2 separate regions of the Homo sapiens genome follow, and region 1 is linked to region 2. The links are contacts of gene promoters, found by promoter capture Hi-C in human tissues and cell types (Jung and others, 2019). All regions are on one chromosome and are shown on one strand. The core of a region is centred on a gene start or on the middle of the fragment in contact, and the rest is flanking DNA. Distances in the headings are between cores, read along the strand shown.

The links. The method cuts DNA at HindIII sites, captures the fragments that hold promoters and counts their contacts. A contact is called where the count stands out against the background at its distance.
Region 1: a fragment that was not itself captured here is called in contact with the fragment with the promoter of HPSE2 in region 2 in 2 of the 25 tissues and cell types used here (bladder and lymphoblastoid cells).

The regions. Positions count from the first base shown.
Region 1 is chr10:98,819,241-98,821,940 of GRCh38, forward strand. The region is part of intron 3 of HPSE2 (heparanase 2 (inactive)); the gene reads right to left. Among named protein-coding and RNA genes, the nearest start is that of MIR6507, 100 kb to the right of the region's middle. The HindIII fragment of the contact is 7,751 bases long and covers 1-2,700 here.
Region 2 is chr10:99,234,584-99,237,283 of GRCh38, forward strand. HPSE2 (heparanase 2 (inactive)) reads right to left here and starts at 1,269. Exons shown (of 12, transcript NM_021828.5): 1 at 930-1,269. The coding sequence starts at 1,219. RefSeq lists enhancers at 1,846-2,346, 2,347-2,700. The HindIII fragment of the contact is 13,698 bases long and covers 1-2,700 here.

The DNA of each region.
Region 1 (2,700 bases), core at 57-2,556, 420 kb before region 2:
AGGAGATTCTCACTGTCCTTATCAACACTGGGGCAATCCTCTGTATTTGACACTCATCAGCCTCAACCAGTTCCTTCCTTGAAGTACTGAAAAAAAATGCAAATGGTAGGAGTTTCTAATATACCTTTAACAGTTTACAAATCTTTCCCCTTGCTTTTTCAATTAGGTTCTACAATCATTCTTTTTTTTTTTTTTTTTAACCAGTTCTCTTGGCCCCAGTTCACTTACTTGGAAGGGACTTCTTAGGAAAACATCATGTGGCCATTACCTTTTCCCATAAGGGTAAGATAATTCTTAAAGCTGATTTACATCCCCATCACCTTTAACTGACAACAGTGAAAATTCTTCAACACTCTTGCCTACTTTTGTCTTTAACCTAAATAATGAAAATGTTGACAGTTTAATTCTTTTTAAAAGAGCTTTTTGAGGAAGTTTTGGATAAATCTACAACAGACATTGGACAAATCCACTGGGCTCTCCTGATAAAGACTCAAATTGACCCAAACAAGCCCCTTCCTAATATCAGACAATACTCCTTAAATCCTGAAACTTCTGCAGAAATTAAGCCAATTACAGAAGAATGTAAAGCTAGGAATCTTGTGGCGCCTAGTACTAGCCCCTGTAGTACTCCTAACCTTCCTATAAAGACATCTCATGGACATGGATGGAGATTTATACAAGACCTATGAAACATTAATAATATTGTCACTCTTTGACACCCTGTCATTCCAAATCTCCATACTCTCATGACTTCCATCCTCACAGAATGTAAATTTTATAGTGACATACTTTTATATTACTTTTTTAAAAAAAGCATTCATGTGGACACTGGGAGTCAAATTTTATTTGTCTTCACGTAGGAAAGTCAACAATATACCTAGATAGTAATGTCTTGAGGGTATACCAAAAGCCCTCCCTACTTTTCAGATACTGAAGACATATTTAACAGACATGTCTTTCCCCCAAGGATTGACTCTCTTGCAGTATGTTGATGACCTCCTTCTTTGTTCCTTGTGAACATGATTATGTTCATCTCCTTAAACTTCTAGCAGACAAAATCCACAAAGTTTCCAGGGAAAGACTATAATTTACCCAGGACCATGTCAAACATTTGGGATACATGATATAAAACCAAGGACTTCTCTTGGATCCTGACAGACTTAATGGTATTTAAACTTTCCTCAATCTCAGACTGAGACTATTACAAAGGAGATAGGGGCTGGCAGGTTCTGTCAAAACTGAATACCTAATTTTCCTTTGATAGCATAACCCTTATATGCTCTTCAGAAATTTGACAACCCAGATCCCCTGGGCTAAAAAGAGAATGCCTGTATGGCCTTCTATCAAAAGAAGGATTTCTAAGTCTTCCTGCCTTAAGGTACCCCAATCATCAGCTCTCTTTCTTCATTTTTGTGCATGAAAAATAAATAAATGTGTTGGGGGTTCTTTACCCCAAAACATTGAGTTCAACACAGACCCATTGGCTATTATAGCCAGCAATTAGGTTCAATAGCTGACTCCCTCTCTGCATGACAGCTATATCAGCCACTACAGCTTTAATTAACTCTACAGAAGAGATAATCACGAACTCTACTCTCACTGTCTATGTTCTTCATGCTGTAGAAGCTTTGTAGAAACCGTAGAGAACTCTCATCATACTCAGTATTATTCTGAGCAGACTAACTTCTTATGAGATCTTGCTGTTGATTTCTCACATTCTTTCTCACTGCAATACTCTTAATCCAGTAACCCTCCTTCCCCTACCTGTTGATGAGACACATCATGACTGTTCAAATCTAAGTGGCCAGCTAAAACCTAAAGTCAATTTACATGAAATTCCTAGACCAAATACAGAACTTTCATGGTTTACTGACACATCATAAATGACAGATTAAAATATAGGAGAATATTGTGCTAGATATACTATAACTTTTCTTGAAGTACAGACATGCATCTCTTAAGTACGGGAATACATTCTGAGAAGTGCATTGTTGGGTAATTTCATCATTGTATGAACAGAATATTATAGAGTATACTTAAACCTAGGCTTCTACATACCTAGTTATATGATATTGCCTACTGCTCCTAGGCTAAAAACCTGTATAGCATATTACTGTACTAAATACTGTAGGTAATTATAGCATGATGCTAAGTATTTGTATATTTAAACATATCTCAACATAGAAAAGGTACAGTAAAAATAAGGTATTACAATTATGGGACACTGTCATATATGTGGTCAGTTGACAAAAATGTGCAGCACATGACTACATGCAGCACGTGACTATAGTTGAAGAAGCTGCACTGCTGATGGCTACTTCAGCCCAACAAGCAGAACTTTATGCCTTAATCAGGGCTTATATTCTGGTGAAAATAAAACTGCAAACGTTTACACCAACAGCCGTTACGCCTTTGGGGTTGTTCGTGATTTTGGTGTGCTTTGGAAACAAAAAGGATTTTTAACCTCCAGAGGGAACCAAATTAAAAATGGAACTTTTGTCAATAATTTATTAAATTCAATTCAACTTCCCTCTGCCTTGGCTATAATCAAAATTTCTGGGCACTCTAAATTAGAAAGGCTAAGAAAAACGACTTGGCTAATCATGCAGCAAAAGCAACTACCTAGAGTTCCACTAAGACTTAAAACCTTATAGCTGATATGGATTGTTTTCCAAAAAAGGATTTAAATGATGTTGTGAA
Region 2 (2,700 bases), core at 19-2,518:
GAAGGGATCGCAGTTGCCTAACTGCCAAACTGCAACAACCCGGGAAGAGTGTGAGCCCAATTAGATTACAAGCCCTAGAGCAAAGGGGATCACAAACCTCCGGGTTTGCTAATCTGCTGGTGCGGAGTTCAGATCTCCGAAGCCTCCCTGGAGTATTTCTAGGACTCTTACCGCTTCCCTTATAACGCTGTGACCCCAGCGAGGATTTTTTTTTTCCTTTAAAGAAAAGCTAAACTGTGCAGTTACCGCAGGAGATTTAAGGAGGAGGAACTGGCGGGGGGAGGGGGGCATTCCGTCTATAAAAAGCGCCTTACAAAGTCCTGAAGTCTGGAAATGACAGCGGAGGATATAAAATAAAAAATTTTAACTCCGATCCAACTTGCCCACCACTCAAGCCTCTGCTTAAATTCGTTTTCTGAGAGTGGGAGAGAACTGACGAAACGATCTTTCCGTGGAAAATTCCAGTTTCGTGCAATCCCGCTTGAACACTCACACACACACACTCTCCTGTCTCACATACACACACACACACACACACACACACATACCCATTCCTTTCAGCTCTTTGTTGTTTGAGACCTTTTCTTCGCTTTTGTAACTGCTCTGAACCTCTTGTTTCTTTTTCAGAAGTAGACGGGAAGGCTAATTGTGGATATATGTAAGCACAACATTTTTTCAGTCATAACTGATAAGTTTCTGAAATGCCTTCTGCATTGCAAACATGTGCATCTTAATAGAAAACATTGCTTTTCTCAATCACTAGTTACAGCCTCACAGCACACAATCCAGGAGAAGGAAAACCTCTTTTCTTCTCTTTGAGAGATCTGCTTGGCTTATTTTCTTCTTTCCCCTTTGGAATGGGGGATAGGAAGGGCTTGAGGGGGTGTTACTAAAAAATTTTAAATGATCCATCGAAACCCCTGCCTTACCTTAGGAAATCGAGCCAGCCATCATGAATGATGGACGGATCCAGCTGCAGAGAGAGGAAGTTCTCATTGACTGTCCTGACTGGGTTCTTGGTGCTCACATCAAGTAGAATCAGGGTCTTTTCCTTCAAACCTGCAGCTCTGTCTACAGGCAAGGGTCTCCTGTCTCCAGCCTGGGAGGAAAGGGAGAGATGGAGCAACAGAGCCAAGTAGAGAGCCCCCGGGGCTAGGCACGCGGGGGGGCGGGAGTTGCTGGAGGGCATGGCTTCAGGGAAGGCACAAAGCACCCTCATTCAATCCCTCTGATTTAAACCTCTCTTCCTACTGGGTCTCGCTAGTGACTAATTGTCCTTATCTAAAGTGTGTGTCTGTCCGCCTTTTTCCCCCCTTTTTTTCCCTTCCTCCCACCACCCCCCCAACACACACACACTCTCTCTCTCTCCCGCTCTCTCTCTCTCTCGCTCGCTCGCTCGCTCGTTTTGTTTTTTTCTTTTTTTTTTTTAATTTTTTTTAATTTTTTTTTTCAGTGTTTTGGTGCTGGTGGAGCGAACTCACGCCCCTAGCCAGCCTTCCCCGTGACTCTTGCCAAGAGAACTCGTACACCGGCACCGCCCCTTTAAGAGATTTCTACTGCAGACATTTTTTAACTTTTTAAAGGTAAGGGGAGGGGAGCAGGCGGGAAGGAGGAGAAAAGGGTGGCGTTGTACCCTCCTAATTTAACCCTCTAGGGTCAGGAAGCAGAGGGAGGAATCCAAACCATGCCGTTGTACCGTCTGGGTACAGAGCAAAGGGTCTCGTTTTTACGTCCTTCCCTGAGAGGCTCTGGAGGGCGGTTCAAGCTCCGACTCCGACCCGAAAGCCCCAGCGCCAACCCGGGACGCGCTGGGATAGAGTTCCCACCGACAGCACGCTTGTTTCTCCTGACAGCGTCAGGCACTTCGTCCGCTCAGGGCCCTTTTCTGGTTGAAGCAGCAATACCAAGGGCGGTTAAGTTGCAGAGGGGTCTTGAGGCGGTGATTCCTGTCAAAGCATAGAGCCCTGAAGGACATTCCCCGAAGAGGAGCCCTGATCTCTGTGACGCGTTGGATAGCCACACCGAAGCATCCTCTGACCTCCATAGGGCAAAGAGTAGCAAGAAGGAAAAACATAGTGACCTGGTCAAGCAGCTTTTCCGATCCGAGGGCCAAAAGGGACATGCGCCCTCGCTCTGCTCTGCTCTTCCCGCAACCGAGGAATAAGCGTCTTGGGAGCGTCAATACATGCTGGCTTTGGCCAAGTCGAAGCTACCTGAGCTGTGCTTGGATAGTCAGGGCGGCTCTGCGTCCAACTGTGCCACTTCTTGGCCACTCTATTCTGCTGCACAGGTAGAGTCCCCCCTCCAGACCCTCCTGGAGGTCAATCCTATACTTAGCCCTCCTGCAGGGAAGTGCGCCTTTACAGTGCCAGATGGGACCATAGTGACACTTTCGGGTTTCCATCTCGGCCCCCAGTCAAAACCAGAGTCACATAGCCCTGGATGGGGAATAACAGCCGGAAGCCGCTGTGATGCACGACCCGCCGCTGCTCATTGAGCTTCCACCCCACAACAGCTTGCAAATTGAACTCTAGGTCCTATCCTGAAGCGCGGGAAAGGGATCAGGCACAGTTTGCTGCAGTCACATTGCTGGGCCCCACTTTCGGCTTCTTTCTGAGACAAAATGGGACTTCTACTTGGCAGATGAAGGGAACTACTTTATGTAGTGCGGGCAGTCAGAAACGCAGAAGCGTCCAGGGC